Regions from separate parts of the Homo sapiens genome. Here regions 2, 3 and 4 are each linked to region 1. Evidence: promoter capture Hi-C in 16 types of primary human blood cells and fetal thymus (Javierre and others, 2016). All regions are on one chromosome and are shown on one strand. Each heading gives the region's core, a stretch centred on a gene start or on the middle of the fragment in contact. The rest is flanking DNA. Distances are from core to core; before and after follow the strand shown. Region 1 holds the start of MANF (mesencephalic astrocyte derived neurotrophic factor). Region 2 holds the start of LOC105377083 (a long non-coding RNA gene). Region 3 overlaps HEMK1 (HemK methyltransferase 1, mitochondrial release factors N(5)-glutamine). Region 4 overlaps MAPKAPK3 (MAPK activated protein kinase 3).

What was found. The method cuts DNA at HindIII sites, captures the fragments that hold promoters and counts their contacts. A CHiCAGO score of 5 or more calls a contact.
Region 2: a fragment that was not itself captured here is called in contact with the fragment with the promoter of MANF in region 1 in 1 of 17 cell types (neutrophils); the score reaches 5.2 in neutrophils.
Region 3: a fragment that was not itself captured here is called in contact with the fragment with the promoter of MANF in region 1 in 17 of 17 cell types (M0 macrophages, endothelial precursors, megakaryocytes and 14 more); the score reaches 15.0 in M0 macrophages.
Region 4: a fragment that was not itself captured here is called in contact with the fragment with the promoter of MANF in region 1 in 13 of 17 cell types (megakaryocytes, activated CD4 T cells, erythroblasts and 10 more); the score reaches 13.8 in megakaryocytes.

The regions. Positions count from the first base shown.
Region 1 is chr3:51,383,345-51,387,772 of GRCh38, forward strand. It overlaps MANF (mesencephalic astrocyte derived neurotrophic factor), which reads left to right and starts at 1,947. Exons shown (of 4, transcript NM_006010.6): 1 at 1,947-2,092; 2 at 2,864-2,991; 3 at 4,393-4,428. The coding sequence starts at 1,999. DOCK3 (dedicator of cytokinesis 3) reads left to right here. Exons shown (of 53, transcript NM_004947.5): 53 at 1-854. RefSeq lists an enhancer at 1,363-1,712 and a silencer at 1,773-2,142. The HindIII fragment of the contact is 4,055 bases long and covers 438-4,428 here.
Region 2 is chr3:50,535,252-50,539,679 of GRCh38, forward strand. It overlaps LOC105377083 (a long non-coding RNA gene), which reads right to left and starts at 4,405. Exons shown (of 3, transcript XR_940833.2): 1 at 4,347-4,405; 2 at 2,721-2,830; 3 at 1-963. RefSeq lists a silencer at 2,464-2,705 and an enhancer at 4,203-4,428. The HindIII fragment of the contact is 2,628 bases long and covers 1,168-3,795 here.
Region 3 is chr3:50,580,031-50,584,458 of GRCh38, forward strand. It overlaps HEMK1 (HemK methyltransferase 1, mitochondrial release factors N(5)-glutamine), which reads left to right. Exons shown (of 11, transcript NM_016173.5): 10 at 86-199; 11 at 351-4,428. The coding sequence ends at 387. Among named protein-coding and RNA genes, the nearest start is that of HEMK1, 13 kb to the left of the region's middle. RefSeq lists enhancers at 1,762-2,263, 2,264-2,763, 4,120-4,428. The HindIII fragment of the contact is 8,059 bases long and covers 1-4,428 here.
Region 4 is chr3:50,647,086-50,651,513 of GRCh38, forward strand. MAPKAPK3 (MAPK activated protein kinase 3) reads left to right here. Exons shown (of 11, transcript NM_001243925.2): 10 at 38-118; 11 at 809-2,206. The coding sequence ends at 961. Among named protein-coding and RNA genes, the nearest start is that of LINC02019, 20 kb to the right of the region's middle. RefSeq lists enhancers at 1-492, 1,984-2,537, 3,993-4,428. The HindIII fragment of the contact is 5,654 bases long and covers 352-4,428 here.

The DNA.
Region 1 (4,428 bases), core at 697-3,196:
GCAGCCCTCACCTCAAAGGGCTGGCCTGCTTCTCAGCCTACATTCATTTGCAAGCTTCAATCTCTGGACCATCTGGTGTTCACAGGTGTTAGAGGGTTAGGGGTTAGGGGCTAGTTTTGGATTTGATTCATAGGTAGGAGGGCTTAGATTTTAAGGCACTTCTGAAAGTCAATCCCTGGACAAGGCAGTCATCACATAAGAACAGCTACCTTCTCCACTTGGTGGCACAAGAGGTAGGGAGGGGAGTATGGGTTCATTTGGCTTCGCATTATGCAAGGTGAAACCGTTTGTTTTCCCTCTCCATTTTCCCTAACTAAATGAAAAGGACACATTCTGAAATCCCTTTTGTTGGAGAATAAGTCAGTCTGAGGGGAAATGGGAGGCCAGAGATGAGAACCCTTTGAAAAGATTGTAAAATACTGATTTTCATTCTTTCAAGCTTATTTGTAAATACCTATTTGAATGCTGTGTATTTGTACAGGAATTTGAGCAAAAAATGTATAGAGTGTGATGTCCAATTGGTATTCAGCACTATAAATGTGTTTTTAACCTCCCGCATTCTGTGCTTATTTAAAACAAGGAAACTTCTAACCATTTCTTTTGTGTATTCATGTTTAAAGAAAAAAAGTGATTTAAAAATGATCTTACCTGTACCAGAAAAGCAAAGTTAAAGGAAACAAAATTTGTACCATTGTCCCAAGAGGTATTTTACTGTATATATTGTGGTAGCATGTTCAAAATCCAACAAGTAATGTGAATTTTAGATGTAAATATCTGCCACTTGATTTTTTTTCCCCCTTTCCCCACTTCCTTGACTGCTGTGATGTGAATTAAAGATAAATACGTGATACTGATCCACTGAATTCACTGAATGGGAGCAGAGGATGTGCCCCTCTCCAACCCTTGTCGCCGGGCTCCAAGCCCTTTTTAGCCCTATAGACATGTCCTTTTTGCACTGAGTAGAGCCAACGGTTCCCGCATCCTGCCTTGAAGGCAGGCAGCCAGGAGGGCACTTGAAAGGAGGGCAGTCGAAAAGGAAACATCCTCCAGTGCTTCTCTGGTGATTCCCGGGACCCCACTCAGGAGGTCCCACGGCAGCGGGGGACCCCGAGGGCCTAGCCGGGGAGGCAGGAGGAGGCTGGCCAGCCACCAAGCCACGATTCAGAGCTTGTAAGGGCACCTCCCGAGCCCCTCACCTTCCCACTCTGAGGCGACCCCATGTCCTCGACCGATGATCTGGCCCGGGCGCTTCCCTCCACGGTCTAGAGTGGCGGCCCAGCTTTGAGCTTGGCGCGCCTTGAGCCCTTCCTTCAGATGTCCCGCAGTCCGTCCACCCCGCACGTCTCCTATCAGCCTATGCACGGCGGGCTCCGGTCAGGTGGAGGATCAGCAGGTGGGCTTTCAAAGGTTGGATCCGTTGCCCACGCGAATGAAAGAAGAAAAAAGAAACCTCTTTGAGCCTTGCCTGCGGCCGCCCGCCCTTCCTGCCTAACCTGTTGTCTTGGCTGACCCCAGAACTCCTGCACCACGAGTCGGAGTCCGGGCGAGGAGATCAGCAGGGGTTTTCGAGGGAGCCTGGGGCCCAGGGCAGGGGTACGCGGGTCAACTCAACAGATGTAAGGCGTGGCCGAACCCCATTCAGCTAGCAGTACCCAGCCTCAGCCACAGTCGCTGCCCTTACCCAAGATGGCGGCCCACACCGCTTCCGTCGCTGCTGTAGTCGCTTCCTGCGGCCAGCCCGGGTTCAATCAGCGGCCGACAACTGTCTAGGGCTCAGACACCACCAGCCAATGAGGGAGGGCAGCGTGGAGCCGCCCGTCTGGGCTCGCGGCTCCTGGACCAATGGGGAAGTGGCATGTGGGAGGGCGCCGGGGGGCCCCCCGCCAATGGGGAGCTACGGCGCGCGGCCGGGACTTGGAGGCGGTGCGGCGCGGCGGGTGCGGTTCAGTCGGTCGGCGGCGGCAGCGGAGGAGGAGGAGGAGGAGGAGGATGAGGAGGATGAGGAGGATGTGGGCCACGCAGGGGCTGGCGGTGGCGCTGGCTCTGAGCGTGCTGCCGGGCAGCCGGGCGCTGCGGCCGGGCGACTGCGAAGGTGCGGGATAGGGGGCCGGGGGCCGCGCTCCGTGACCGTTCTGGCGGCGGCGCTGAACCCCACAACATCACCAGACGGCCGGGGCCAAGAGGGCGAGGGCGGGGGCGGGGGCGGGGGCGACAGCAGGTCCCCGCGGGGCCTGCATGAGGAGGCTCCGGCGCCCGCCCTAGTAAATCTTTCTTGGGCCTAGAAAACATTGGTCCGACGAAGAAAAGTTGAGACTAGATCCCGTTGAAAACTTGTCCTGAAATCTCCATCACTCCTGAGTTATTGTCCCCACCACCATCTAGAGGTTACCGCTCCCCGTTCGGCGTCGGGAGCTCCAGGGCTGGCCGTGGGTGCTGCGCCCTGTCTGTTGGGATCACGAAGCTGCACCTCTGGGTCCGCTGTTGTATTTGGAAATTAGCAGCAGCATTTTGATCATTTTTCTCTTCACCTTCCAGTCTCTCCATTTATGAGGTCACAGTGAGTCCCGTCTCAAGGACACGTGTTCACCATGGGCTTAAACTTGATGAAAGGAGCAGGGAGAAGTCGTTTATAGGTCATTGGGTGATGCTTGGTCCTTTGATGCCCTGGGTGTACCAGGGGACCCCCGCCACTTGGAACCGGGTTCTGTCTACCTGTAGACACCTGAGAAAAATCGGTGATGGAAAAGCTCACCTCTAATGATTCATCTCCGTGTCTCCTATTAAAATTGCTGGCGGAGTTCTTTTCTGGTGGATTGGAACAGCTTGGTGATTGCTGAGCATCTCCCGTCCCTCTCTTTTCCAGTTTGTATTTCTTATCTGGGAAGATTTTACCAGGACCTCAAAGACAGAGATGTCACATTCTCACCAGCCACTATTGAAAACGAACTTATAAAGTTCTGCCGGGAAGCAAGAGGCAAAGAGAATCGGTTGGTAAGTAGCTGGTGATCCTCCCCAACTGGCCCTGGCTCATGTTAACCCTCGGCTTCACCAGCCGTTTGATAAAAGGCCTTGCCCACCTCTCTGTTCAGGAAGCCAGCTACTCTCTCCATAAACTAATGTGAGAAGACTGAAGTGCTTCTATGTCCTTCCCAAAGCAGCATGTGTTCTGCAACTGTGATTTTTTTTTATCCTGTTAGTCTTTATTAAGCACCTACTATGTGCTAGGCACTGGGAATATCAGGGGAAAGAAGTGACAGTCGGACACACAAATAATGCAATGTCTGGGTGTCATGAAGAAAATGGACCAGCAGGTGCTGATTTAGAGTGGCCAAGAAGTCTCTGAGGAAGGGTTATCATTGAAGTGGGGTAAGACCATCCCATACAGGGAACAGCAGTGTGAGTGCCCAGAGGCCTGAAAGAGTGTGGCATGTATGTGGACAGGAGAAGGTGACAGGGTGCCTACAGGATAGGCAAGGGCCGAATCCAAGACAAAAGCCCTAGTGAAGCAATGGGTTTTCTAACTTGAATTTCTCTGACAGTCTCTGGCTTTTCTCTCTGTTAAAGGTTTGAACCCTGGTGACACTTAAATTCATTTGGTGGCTGTCAGCTTGGACTGAGCATGTGTTAAGAGTCCAGGGTTTACACTGGCTGAATCTGACTACCAGTACAGGCAGGGCACCGAAAAATGCCGCTGTGGGCCAGGTGCGGTGGCTCATGCCTGTCTTCCTAGCACTTTGGGAGGCCAAGGTGGGAGGATTGCTTGAACTTAGGAGTTTGAGATCAGCCTGGGCAAAGTGGTGAAATCCTGTCTGCACAAAAAAATTTTTAGGCTAGGCGTGGTGGCTCACACCTGTAATCTCAGCACTTTGGGAGACCGAGGTGGGTGGATCACCTGAGGTCAGGAGTTCAAGACCAGCCTGGCCAACATGGCAAAACTCTATCTCTACTAAAAAATACAAAAATTAGCCAGGCATGGTGACAGGCGCCTGTAATCCCAGCTGCTCAGGAGGCTGAGGCAGGGAGAATTGCTTGAACCTGGGAGGCGGAGGTTGCAGTGAGCCGAGCCAAGATTGCGCCACTGCACTCCAGCCTGGGTGACAGAGCAAAACTTTATCTCAAAAAAAAAAAAAAATTGTTTTAGTTAGCTGGGTGTGGTGGCCCACACCGGTAGACCCAGCTACTAGGGTGGCTGAGAGGGGAGGATCACCACCCAACAGATTGAAGCTGCAGGGAGCCGTGATCATGCCACTGCATTCCAGCCTGGGTGACAGGGAGCCCTATCTCAAAACACAAGTAAGGCCCTACAGAGAGATGATGTTTCAAGGTGTCAGTATGTTTGGAGGAGATGGCTCTCAAGCACCTCCTGAAGGCCATTGTCCTTTATTGCTCCAGTGCTACTATATCGGGGCCACAGATGATGCAGCCACC
Region 2 (4,428 bases), core at 1,232-3,731, 850 kb before region 1:
GCATGATGATGGGGTCAGGGGTTCCCCAAAGACAACTGAGAGTGAGCACCCGAGCATGCCCCGGCTTCTGCCGAGCCTCCATAGTGCCTCAACTCCCCTTCTTTGGTTAACTCCTTGAGGGAGTTAATTCTCTTCCTGTCTCACCTCCCCCTAGGCTGTGAGCCCAGAGGCAGGAACCAGGCTGTCCTGTTTACCACAGGATTCCCAGTGTCCATGAGTGAGGGGGAGCCCTTCATGGTACAGACGGGGAAACTGAGGCAGGGGCTTAGCTGAGATCACACATCCACGTTCATGCCAAGGCGCCCTGTGCTCTGCCCTCATGCTGTCTTCACTGTACCAACCCTCCATCTCCCATATCTCTGTGTCATCTGCCCCTGGCCCAAACCACCCCCATTCCTGGTGTGGTCTCCAGCTCTGCCTGTCCATGTATCCCTCTTGCCTAAACTCCTGTGGTGTCCGCTCTGTTCTCTACCTCCTCAGTGCTGAAGCTGCCTTATGCTAGCCCCTGCCCAGCCCACCCCTGCTCCCAAGGCCCTGGTGGACCTATGGACACTGGCCTCTCTTGTCCCCACAGACAAGGTGCCATCTCTGGGGGATATTCTCGTAGGTTCTCTGCCTATGCTGTTGCCCTCCCCAGGGCCTGAGTACCTTTTCTCCCTGGCCTTCTGCTCCAAGCTCTCCTGCTTCCCAGGTTAGCTGCCCTTATTCTTTAAGCCATAGCTCAGGGGTCACAGAGAAGCCTTCTGTGGTCCCCCACTGTCCCCTCCTCTGCTGTAGGATATCTGTCTGTGTTTGCATGTTCTCCCCAGGGAGGCTGTGCCCCCTCGAGGGCGGCCAGCGTGTGATTCCTCCTGGAGTCGGCCCATGTCAGACCCTGAGCTGGTGCTCAGCAGCTCTCGGTGCGTGTTCATTGAATGAATGGATGACCTTCCAGTGACGGGGCCTTCACATCTGGGGCCAGTTCTGCTGGTGAACAATGGGGCATGGTCAAAGATCCTCCTCGGCACCCCCAGCAGAGCCCACAGGGTCAAGTTCTGTGCACATGCTCGGGGCTAGCAGGACCACAGAAGAGGTTGTGAGCCATCTGGGAAGCTGGGTGATAGACCCATCCTGACCGCTGGCCCCTGCCCCACCAGGAGAGAACCCCTGGGAAGCTGAGGAGACACAAGCTTGTCCTGTTGCTGGCCTTGGTTCTTCCTTACATCTTTCCCATTCTCTCTGCCACCAGCCAGTCCCCTCCTTGCCCCCTTGGTCAGTGGCCTTGGTCCTCGTAGTTCCTTTCCTCTCCTTTTGGCTTCTGCTCCCCTCCGCAGGGTGCATGGCACATCCCACTCCAGCAGCCACCCCCTCCCATCTTTCCCTGCCAGTTCCCCACCCACTCCCTGCTCAGCCTCAGCCTCCTGCAGCCCTGTCTCTCCTCTCCACTAGGCACGGCTGCTTTCCTCCAACTTAAGTTGAATTGATCTCCTGCTTAATTACCTGATGTGTTCATTGCCTGCATGGCCTATTGGCAGAGGTGGGTGAGCTGGTGGGCAGGTAGAGAGCTGGGATGGCTCAGACCTTCAGTGGGCACCTGCCTGTGCACCTGGGAGTGCAGCAGTGTGGGTGTGCTTCCCTGGGATGCCAGGGCAGCAGAAGAGGAGTGCATGCACCCACCCACACATGCATACACACACACACACACACCCTTGTGTTTCCACATGGGTAACACCCTAGCACAGTCACACCCCACATCCCACGTGGCCAGCCATGGGTGCACACAGGCACACACACACACACACACGTCACCATCTCCCACACACACATCTATACTGGCTGACTGTGCTTCCAGCTGCAGCCAACAGCTGTTATTACTATCCTGTCCTGGGCCTGGCATTCAAGGCCTCCATGATCAAACCTCAACAGACCACTCCAGCCACACCTCTCTGAGATATCCCTGGACACAGCAGAGGCTGAGGCACCTTCGGGACAGGGCTGGAGGGGTAGGAGCTGGCCAGCTGCAGGCCTGGCCAGAGAAGTGGAGGCTCTCCATCTCTACCCATCAGTCTGTGTGTCTGTGGGGGTGTCAGTCACCCCGGGGGAGCCCCTGGGGCAGACACTCTGAGCAGGTCTCCCACTCACACATCATCTCCCCTCCTCTGACACCCTGTGCCAGGCAGCACCTGGACTCTCACCTGCCCTGAGCTGATCCCAGGAACTGGAGAAGAGGTGGGGCACAGGGAAGGCACCTCCTGGAGGAGGCAGAACTCAGGACAGTGAGCCCTTGCTGAGTACCTATTATGTGCTGGAGCTTTCACACCACGGTTGAAGTTGGTTGTTATCACAGTCCTTCCAGTCATTCTGTCTCCTGCCCACACAGCCCCCATTTCTCCCTCCTCTTGAACACAAGGAATGAGCTCCTCAGGGAGCACACCTCCCAAGTCACACCCAGCCTGCTGGAGCCTCTTCAGTTTCCCTGTCTGTGTTTGCAAGGTCAGGGGTAAAACCAAACTGCATCTCTTTTTCCGGGGGGTGGAGTGTCATTGTCCTTTCTGCTCACTGCTAACCTAGGTTCATCTTGCTGCTTTCAACAGTGATACTCTCTGGTCCTGGCTCCTATGGGCAATGTCTGGTATACCAGGCCACTGCTGAAGTCTTCACATGCCCTGTGGCAGAGGCATGCCCCATGACCCCATTGAGCAGATGAGGAAAGTAAGGCTTTGGGAGTTTAAGTGACTTACTGGGGAGCTCACAGGTAGAAAGTAGCTGTGGCAGGAATGGATCTTGGTCAGGTCACCAACTGGGCTGGGTCTGCACTCCACACCCTGGTACAGATGGGAGGATTGAAGACCTGAGGCCAAGAAAGAAAGCTGCGTGGTAGCCCCCAGCACTGGGACGCTCCACGGTGTGCGGTATGTGGTATTCGGTGCATGGTATTGTTGGGGCTCAAGCAATACGACTCCAGCCAGACGTGGTGACTCACGCCTGTAATCCCAGCACTTTGGGAGGCTGAGGTGGGTGGATCACCTGAGGTCAGGAGTTGGAGACCAGCCTGGCCAACATGAAGAAACCCCGTCTCTACTAAAAAAACAAAATTAGCCGGGTGTGGTGGCGCATGCCTGTAATCCCAGCTACTCAGGAGGCTGAGGCAGGAGAATCGCTTGAACCCAGGAGAGGGAGGTTGCGGTGAGCTGAGATCGCGCCATTGCACTCCAGCCTGGACAAGAGCGAAACTCCGTCTCAAAAAAGAAGAAAAAAAAAAAGAAAGAAAGAAACATGACTCCAGAATACGGCACCTTGCAGGTCACTCTGCCCTTCTCCAGCCCTCCTTTTTTTCCACTCCCTTTTCTCCCCGAAAGTGGTCATAGGAACTAGAACCCCTCTCCTAGCCAAGCAAACCATAAAACCTAGAAAGGTCACTTTCTGACTTCCTCCCTTCTCTTGTAAAGGTCCTCCTGAGACAGGGGTTCTGCCCCTGGGCAGGGGCGAGAGCACCTCTATCATGGAGAGACCCAGTAAGAAACCTGAACAAATGGGTCTTGCTGAAGCCCTGCTCCCAGCTTATTAGCATTAGGCCATGCCCTTTTGCTTTAAGCATTTCTCCACAACTTCTTTCATCAGACTTAGCATAAAAATATTCTGTTTTCCCAGGTCCTTGGATCTTCATTTCCTCAGGCTCCCCAGTCATTAAAACTTTGGTGAAATCAATGTGTTCTGCTTTTCTGTCAATCTGTCTTTTGTTATAAGGGTGTCAGTCACGACCCTTGTGATGGGTGAGGGAAGATGTTCCTTTTCCTCTCCTGACCTGGAAGACAAAGCTTCCTCCTGAAGCCTTCCTGAGGGCTCCAGCTCCCAGGGAGCTCATTCAGGCTGCCAGGCCAGACACAAACCCTTTGGGTCCCAGCCCACATTTGCAAGGTAAACGTGCCCCTTCCTATACCTTCTCATCTCCACCATAAAACAGCCCAGGGGGCCTCTGTTTGTTGGGTGTAATTAGCTGTTTCTCCCTCACTTGATCACAATTAGATTCCGGTTTAGAAGAAAGCAGCCAAAGGGGTCTCTGTGCTGGGGCCTCTTAGGCTGACCTGGGGTAACTGAGTGCAGTGGCTGCCCCCGACCCTGCAAATCCCTCCTCTCCCCTAGGGAGGACGGGGGAGGAGAGGATGAAGGAAGGAAAGGCAGGAAAGGGAAAGAAGCAGGGGAAGCAGGGGGAGGAAGAAAAGAGGGAGACAGGCAGATAGGAGGGCAGGCTGACTGGGAGTGGGGAGGAGGAGAGGGAAAGGAGGAGGAAGGTGAAGAGAGGAGAGGAAGAGGGAGCGGAGGAGCCCGGGAGACGGGGGTGGGGAGGGGGGAGAGGACATACCAACCTGACCTGCGGGGAGGCTGGAGGGAGGGGGAGCCCGGGCCACAGGGGAGTTGACGATGGCTGCAGGAGACAGATAAGGTTGG
Region 3 (4,428 bases), core at 928-3,427, 800 kb before region 1:
GACCCTCACCTCGCCAGCCCAAGCAGCCCAGAAGGGCAGGCGCCAGACCTGTCCTGCTGAGCCCACCCATTTCTCCCCCATGTAGTAGTATCTTCTTAGAAGTGGACCCAAGGCACCCGGAGCTTGTCAGCAGCTGGCTTCAGAGCCGGCCTGACCTGTACCTTAATCTTGTGGCTGTGCGCAGGGACTTCTGTGGGAGGTAAGATCCTAGCCCCCTTTAGCCCTGTAGCATGCTGGTCTTTCCACTGGGGCCATCCTCAGCCCTGGCTGTCAGGAGAGTGTGCTGTTCCCACTTCCTGTTCATTCCCTGAGGCCCAGGTGGTAACCAGCCCCTGTCCCTGTCTCCTCAGGCCCCGGTTCCTGCATATCCGGAGGTCTGGGCCATAGCATGGCTGCCCTGTGGATGCCTTGTCAGTGCCGCCAGCCTGACCAGAGGGGAGGTGGATGGCACTTTCCAGAGCCCAGGTTCTTATGGCATTTCCCAGGGTTCTGTGATTTCCCCATGCTCTGCATTTCTAGGATATTTCTAGGACACCTGGATTGGCTCCATCACATCAGAGTGGCTGAGGGCAGTTGCTCTGTGTTGGTGAAATTGCTGTGGGGGTATCGGGGGATATGGCCAGTAAAGTATTGAGAGACTAACAAATGGTGACCTAATGTTTTGTCCATGACTTGCAGGTCCCCTGACCCCCTTACTCCCAGGTAGCACTGGGGCAAGGGTTTCCTTCTGCCCCAGCAGGGCTGGCCGTCAGTCCCCTGCTTGGTAGTGGTGTGGGGGTGCAGTGTGGAGGAAGGCACGTGAGTCCTCACTCCTGGCCTTGGATACCATGGGTCCTGGCATAGAGCAGCTCACTCCCAGGGATTGATTAGTCCTCCACTGCCCTGGGTGCATGCGTACACAATTCCCTGGCCAAGCCTGGCTCGAGCACAGGAAGCTCATCTGCGTTTTGGCTCAAGGATGACTGCCTGCTTTCTGGAGGGGAGGGTCTGGAGGTCTTTGCTGCACAGTTCCTGGGTCGCACATCCACGTTCATTTAACTGAAGGCTTGAGCCAGTGAGGGGTGTTTCCTTTTTATCCCCATAGCTTTTAGCTAAAACATCCCTCCCGAGTTGACCCCCTGGGGTTTCAAATAACCCATGTGTCCCTGGTTGGGGCTGGGGAGAGTGAGAAGCTGAGATACTGGGCACAGGGTTGTGGCCTCCACCCCAGCTCTGGTCTGTGCAGACTCATGGCCACCAGGAGGCCTGCAGATCCAGCCTTCCTGTCAACAGCGACAGGAAATCTCTAGGTTGGTGAGTGCTGGTGATGTGAGCCTACATCAGGGTGGGTCCTAAGAAACATGGCAAACCAGGCTGTCTCATTCCACTAGACTGCCCCCTGCCACCCTGGCACTTCCCAGGGCCTGGCAGTATGGTCTGATGGGCAGTATGGTCCAATAGGCAGCATCCTCTGCTGCAGCTGGGAGAGCTGAGTTCCAGGGCTGTGTCCTGCAGTGGGACCTTGGGCAACTCCTTTCCCTATGAGAAGCTGGCTCTTCTGAGTCCAGGGCCAACGCCAACTGGCAACCTCTTTACTCTTAGTCAAGTGGAATGTGCATGCTGGCATCTGAATGTCCATTCGCCAGGCATGGAGAGCAAGAGAAGGTATGTACTGCCTGAGGTCACATGACAGTGACCAAGTGGAGACAGTAAGTTAGATCCCTCCCTTTGGGGAGCCTATATTGCTGGAGTCATACCCAGCCTAAGTGTTGCCCTGCACTATGGCTGGAGGACACATTTGGTAGAGGTCACACTGCAGCTCCCAGTGCCCCAGTGTCCTGCCCTGTGCCCAGCCCCAGCTGCATGGACTCTGAGCTGCCCCTGGCTTCCTTTAAGGAGGCTGCTCCAGAAGGAACCTGGGTGGGGAGGGCGAAGGGGGTGCACAACCAGGGCAAGGCTCCCCACTTCCTTAGTCCCCCATGCTCACAGACCTTTGCCTGCTAAGGTCCTCACCAGTATTGCCCTTTCTGTCTTTCTCCTTGTGCCCTTTGGCTCTTGCTGTCTTCAGCAGCATCTCAGGGTAGCTGCCCTGACCTCGGAGCAGTCTGTCGCCCCCCTACACCTCAGCCAGTCCTGGCTTCCCTGATGGTCTCTCCCTCCTGGCCTCAGGCCCATTCCTGAGGAAGGGCCTTGGCGAGCTTGTGGATGTTGCACCAGAAGAGAGTGCAGTGTTGGAGAGTGACACTGTCGGGGCAGCTGGGGCCACAAGCAGGAGCCGGCCTCGGGCACAACTTTCTGCCCAGAAAAATGTGCAGCTTGACTCTGCTGAGGAAAAGGTCCAAGCCAAGAGGACTGGCAGGCGGGGCCTCAAGCCTGCAGCCACTGGCTTGATTGGGCCCTGGACGTTGAGCCCAGATGTTGGAGCCACACCAGCCTGGATTTCAATCCCAGAATCTGCCCCTCACGAGGATGTGACCTTGGGCAGATGACTTCACCTCACTCAGCCTTGGCTTCTAAGGCTGAGAAATGGGACTTAATGCTTTATTTTATAGGATGCATGTGAGGAGCCCATGGGATGTGCCTGGCTTGGCACATTGTGGCATTTTTCCTTGCCTTCCTCGGAGGGCAGACACAGGGAGGAAGGACCCAGTGCCCTCAGGCGTCCATCTGATGCATGGGACCAACATAAGGCAGGCAGGGATACAAGGCAGTCTGGAAAGAAGGGAAGGCAGGAGTTTCAGTCTTGGGCTCTTGACTCCTCACTGTTGTCTAGAGATGGAGCCAGCAGGCTGGTAGCCTGGCAGCCTACATCTCCCCTCAGCCTCTCCTCACTATGGCCCCAGTGCCTTGAGGCCCAGGCCAGGGCAGCCAGTGGCTCTAGCTCAGGGAAAGCCAGGCCCACCTGCCCTATCCCCTCCCTTGCTCCTGAGGCCAAAGCCAGAGACTCGAACAGCCTCCCCACCACCACCAGCATATGTCAAGGAGCACTTGCAGGCAGAATGGGAGGAGGACATGGAGCTGATGGAGTCCAGGCTGTGCAAGCCCCTGAGGTCTTGAGAGATGTGCCCACTGCCCGTGCAGCCTCCTTCAGCCAGAGCCCAGAGCATAGACAGGAGTGTAGGAGTCCCTGTTTGATGTACTCTGGGAGAGTAATTCTATCTCCTCTTCTGATAGTTGGGGAAACTGAGGCCTTGTCTCACAGTTGGATGCTTTTCCCAGTTGTCAGTGGGTTTCTCCATGGGTCTCATACAGCTGCCTTATTGAAATAGGCCCCGAACCCCCTAAATGCAAAAAATACTCTTTTTTGCTCCTTTACCCCCACCTGGACCCTGGGCTATTGGCTGCTCCCAATCCTTGCCCCAAACACTTAGCTGGCTCCCCATGACTTAAGTGTGTTCTCTTGTGTCCTATGGAATCCAGTTCTGAAGAGGTGGGGGAGGACAACTGTGGGAAAAGCCCTGGGGGCCCCTCCCAAGGCCCCATCAGTGCTCTGAGTAGGCTGTCATCAGAACAAAGGGCTCCACTGCTGACAAGGTTTGAGAACTGCTGGCTTGAGGTGAGAACCCCTTTAACCTCTGCGGGACAGCATGTCTTTCCCTATCCACCTTCGATTCTTTTCTCTTTTTTTTCTTCATTGGCTCCTTCTTAGTGGATTCTCTTCTCTACTGCCCTGGGCTTCAGCCTTTGTGCAGTACTCTCGATGCCCTGAACACACACCTTCCCTTTGCCCAGGCGGTGCAAACAATCCACTTCTTCAAGCTCCAACACAAATGCTGCCTCCTTTAGGATGCCTGCTCTGTGCTCTCCCTGCCTCCCCTAGCCCATACCTCTGCTGGCACCTTCTGTACCATGCCTTCAGAAACCTTCTTATCCCCCTCATCTCTGGGGCCCCCTGTGGATCTGGCATACCCAAGTTCAGTAAATGTCTATCAGTAAGCTGATGGTACATGCATTTTCTAGAATAGAGCTGGGACTTCCCATGTGGCCCACATCTGACCTGGCAGCCCATGTATTCCGGTCATTAGGGATGGGAAGCCATGAGGACCTGGCCTTCTGCCCGACCCAGGCAGCCATTCAAGTTGAGCAATGGCCACTTCGAAGACTCAAGTGCACCTGATCCCTGCGCAACAGCCACACCAGGAGAACAGGCTGTCCTTGGCGGCAGTAGGAGCAGGCGCCAGGTTTCCTGGAGCTCTTGGCTTCAGCCAGCCCCCAGCCAGAGTCCTGGCTAGGACAGTGACCTGATCTCCTCCTCATGACCTTCTGCCCTGGACAAGCCCCCTGAACTGGATTTGGGACTGTCAAAGCAACTCTACCCCTGCTCTGGTAGGCTGAACAGTGACCCCCCAAAATGGCAGTGTCTTAATCACCTAAACCTTAACATGTGACTATATTACCTTCACATAGCAAAATGGACTTTGCAGATGTGATTAAGGATCTTGAGATGGA
Region 4 (4,428 bases), core at 1,929-4,428, 740 kb before region 1:
TCCAGTTTCTAATCCACGGGCGTGGGGCTCCTTCCAGCAATCGATGGTAGTGCCACAGACCCCACTCCACACGGCCCGAGTGCTGCAGGAGGACAAAGACCACTGGGACGAAGTCAAGGTGGGTGGGCTCTGCCTCAGTCTCAATACAGGTGCCAGGATTTGGGCAAAAGGGACTTCAGGGGGGTGGCTACCCAGGGTCTGGGGTCTTTGGCCCCTTTCTATACCTGGAGCACAGGGTGTCAGTGACTGTCGCAGTGGTCCAACCATGGCACTCCAAGGATTGGGCCTCACTACGCCATTCAGTGTGGTGCTCCTGGCTCACTTCCTCAATGAAACGGGGCTTTGGTACCAAGCTTGGATGATGACCTCTCTTATAACCAACAACATTTGGGAGGGTGGTCAGCCTGGTTTAGACCCAGCAGAGGCCACGTTTGAACATATGGAGTAGCAGCTCCAGTGGCACAATCTCCAGGCCCCAGTGCGCTGGTTGCCCAGCGAGATGGCATTCTCTGCAGGTCTTGTGGTTCTGTGGTGGAACTGGTTTAGTTCACTATCCCACTTACCCTTGGTGTGGTCCGAGGGAGTAACTCTCCTTTTGTGCCTTAGTGAATAAGCTCAGTGTCTACCACAGAGGACGGTAGTGAGGATCATGTGATGCAAAGGGCTTGGCCCAGTGCTGGGCACACAGTGGGCACAGAGGCAGCACAGGCTGTCACTGACATTAAGGGGCTGCCCAGGCAGGGGGGTGATGGTTCCTAAGGTCAGTACATCCTGACCTCTTAGTGCCCACCATCCTGTCTGTCCCCAGGAGGAGATGACCAGTGCCTTGGCCACTATGCGGGTAGACTACGACCAGGTGAAGATCAAGGACCTGAAGACCTCTAACAACCGGCTCCTCAACAAGAGGAGAAAAAAGCAGGCAGGCAGCTCCTCTGCCTCACAGGGCTGCAACAACCAGTAGCTCATGGGGCCTTGGAGGAGCCTGGCCTCTCAGCCTGCATAACAGACTGAAATGTGCTCAGGCCCTGGCCAGGAGGGCCCAGGGTCATTCTTTTAACAAAAGGATTATTTTGTTGTGTTTTAATTTGTCACTCGGAACTTCAGGATGGAGGACCCTGACCCTAAACCTCCTTCAGATCTCTGGCCCAGGCTCAAGCCCTAGAGATGGGCAGGGCCTAGGGGCTGGGAGCTGCCTGCTGCCATAGCAGCACCTTTAGCTAGGTTGGCCCGAGTGAGGCCTCTGTGCTGTCCTGCCCTGGTGCATGGCCTTAGCTTTCTAGGCCACTGGGAGTTGTGGCTGGGCTTCCCATCTTCCACAGAGACATCTCCCTGTGGGATGGGCAGATGGGCCTGGCCTTGAGAAAGGCATTGGCCATTGGTTGCCATGGTGACCAGGGACCACGTTGCTGCCTGTGAATGCTGAGTGAGCGAGTAAGGGAGGAGGGGCGATTGAGGGTTCACCTCTGCCTTGGGGAGGCTGATTTCTCACACACTGGCTGGCCCTCTCATTCTCACTCCTCCTTGGGCCCTGAGGCTGCTGGATCCGGTCTGCCTGCCTCCCTGTGCAGTCCAGCCCTGCCTTGCTGCAGCCCCAGCCCAGATGGCACTCAGCGCTCTCCCCTGAGGGAGTCCCTGGGCCTAGCCATCCCCTCACTATTCCCGACCCAAAGGGTGACTTTTCATCTGAACTTAAGGTGGGAGATATTTTTAACTTTTTTCCACTTTGGAAAATGTCACTGTGACAAAAGCCAGCATACTTTCCCTGCACCCATCTGCTCACCAGATCTCAGGCAGGAAAGCCCCTCTCTGTTGAAGTCAGGGGCTATCTTTTGGTATACTTGTGTGAAAGTGGCTGGTTGGGAGCAGAGCTAAGTGGCTTCCCATTAACCTGAGGTCTCTTTCTTTACTCTGGGTCAGACCTGAGGTTGGGGAAGGCGACTGAGCCATGCTCAGAATGTCTGGTCCTGGCTTGGGCCTGAGTAGGGCAGAGAGGGCCTTTCCTGGCTGATCAGAGCTTACCAGCCCCACCCCACCATGGTAGCCTTAGGGTGCTGAGTGCCTGATACTGCCTGACAAGTGCCTGACACGCAGCCTAGTTCCTTCCTGGCCCCTCTCTCACTGGCTGGGAAACCCTAGACCATGTCAGATAGGACAACACTGCTGGGTTTTACATCCAGATAGTAATAAACACCATTTCATCATTTTCTCTTGGCTCCTGGGTTTACTCTTTGTCTACAGGGGTGGACAAAGGTGGCCCAAGGGCAGCTTCTCAGACCCACTAGTGATTTCACCCCAGCTGGAGGGGGTGCCTCAGGCCTGATAAGCATGCCATGCTAACTCCAAGGCCAGAGTCCTCGCCAGGCCTAGAAAGGTCAGAAGAGCTGAGGGATGGCAGCTGCCACATGCCCCCAGCTCTGTGCTGCCCCTGTGCAGTGTGTGTGACACCTACCCCCGGTCCTGTGTGTGCCAGCATCTGCCCAGAGTGGCCACCCCCAGCTGTGTGCCAGCCTGCTGAAGGGCGGGCAGAGTGCCTGCTGCAGCGCTGAGCTATTTTCAGAAACTGCCAGATTTCATTTGGCAGTGAGAATATCGAGGAGGGGAGGGGGCGGCATGCTGCAAGACTGTCTTTTGACTACTCCAGTAAGAGAGCACTCTCACCCCTCCGGAGCCCTTGTGGGTAGCTTCAAGGAGGGCCCTAACTGTGGCATTTCTCTCCCAGCTCCTATCTTGAGAAACCTCCCAGTTTTCCAAGAGCTCATCTGCTGCCTGCAGCGCTCTCTCCTCCACCCCCACTTCCTTCAGGGCGTGGGGGAGGGTGCAGAGATGCTGGAAGGCAGGGGACAGGCAAACACGCCTGAGATGTTCTGCTGCTTCCCAGCCTGGTGACCTTGGGAGCTTTCTTGGCCTCAGTTTCCTCAGCTGTGTCCTGGCGATGATAATGCCCATCTCATGGAGTCATGTGGGGGATTTGAGCAGATGATGTGTGTGAAGTACTTAGTGAGGTGCCAGGTGCGTGGCTCATGCCCCACACTCATTAGCTACTCTAACATCCTTAGTCATCAGGAAGGAGAGAAGTATCTAGAGTTATATCTAGAGTATCTAGAAGTCTCTAGAAGAAAAAGCAGCCCCAAGTCTGCCTCAGGAAGGAGAGAATATCTAGAGTATCTAGAAGTCTCTAGAAGAAAAAGCAACCCCAAATCTACCTCAGGAACTTTCTATCCAGACAATCAGGGCTTCCTCACCCATGGGGTTTCATTTCCAAGGGCCTGCTCCCCAGAGCAGCATCATGTGGGCCTCCTGGGCTTTGTTTCCAGTACTGGGCTTCCAGGAGGGTAGCCAGATAAATTCAAGAGACTCCATGGAGCCTGTGGTTCAGCCCAGCCTTCCTAGTATACCCTACATTTGGAGGAATGCTGGCCAGATGCAAAGGTAGATGTAGTCCATCTAGTCTCAAAGCTGTGGAGGCACAGATGGCCTTCCTTGCTTGGCTGCCAAGCATCCAGTGTACCTGAGATGCTGTGCTGGGTGCAAGGAAGGCTGCAGTGAGAACTTCAGACAGGGAGTTCACCTCAAGGTGTTTACATTCATGCGGGAGAAGGTGAAAACATCACATGTTGAAAAATGTTAAATTGGCCGGGCGTGGTGACTCACGCCTGTAATCCCAGCACTTTGGGAGGCCGAGGCGGGCAGATCACAGAGTCAGGAGATCAAGACCATCCTGGCCAACATGGTGAAACCCCATCTCCACTAAAATATAAAAAGTTAGCTGGGCGTTGTGGCAGGTGCCTGTAATCCCAGCTACTCGCGAGGCTGAGGCATGAGAATCACTTGAACCTGGGAGGCGGAGGTTGCAGTGAGCCGAGATTACGCCACTGCACTCCAGCCTGGCGACAGAGCAAAAGTCCATCTCAAAAAAAAAAAAAAAGTTTAATCAAGGTCTTGATATGATCTGTGATGGAAGAACATGGTTCCAGGAGAAGGAGGTGTCATGGGACAGTTTGAGCCAAAGAGAGAATATATGCATCCCAGTGCTGGGAAAGGTGCCTGATAGGATACAGGGTTGCAGGCAGAAGTGCAGGGACCAGGGCCTCAGGGACAGAGGGTCTCCCTGCTCTAGGACTCCCGTCTGCCACTCTGCTCTGCCAGTCTGTGCTTCTTCCTGGGGCTGTCCTTGATCCTTTGCCTGCACTGGGTTTTTTTTTTTGCCTTCTCCATAGCTCTGGCAAAACTAGAGCTGCAGAAGTTCTAGCTGGGGAGGTCATCTGCTCAGGTGTCCACATGTCAGTTTCAGGGGAGGGTTCTTGTTGGTCACATTTGGCCCCTTGCTGTTGTTGGGGAGAGGGTAGGGCCCCTCCTGTAACTAGGTGGGGAGGGGTGCCCTAGAAGCAGTTAGCAGAAGAGCAGATGGAAAGATTGCCCCATTATCTC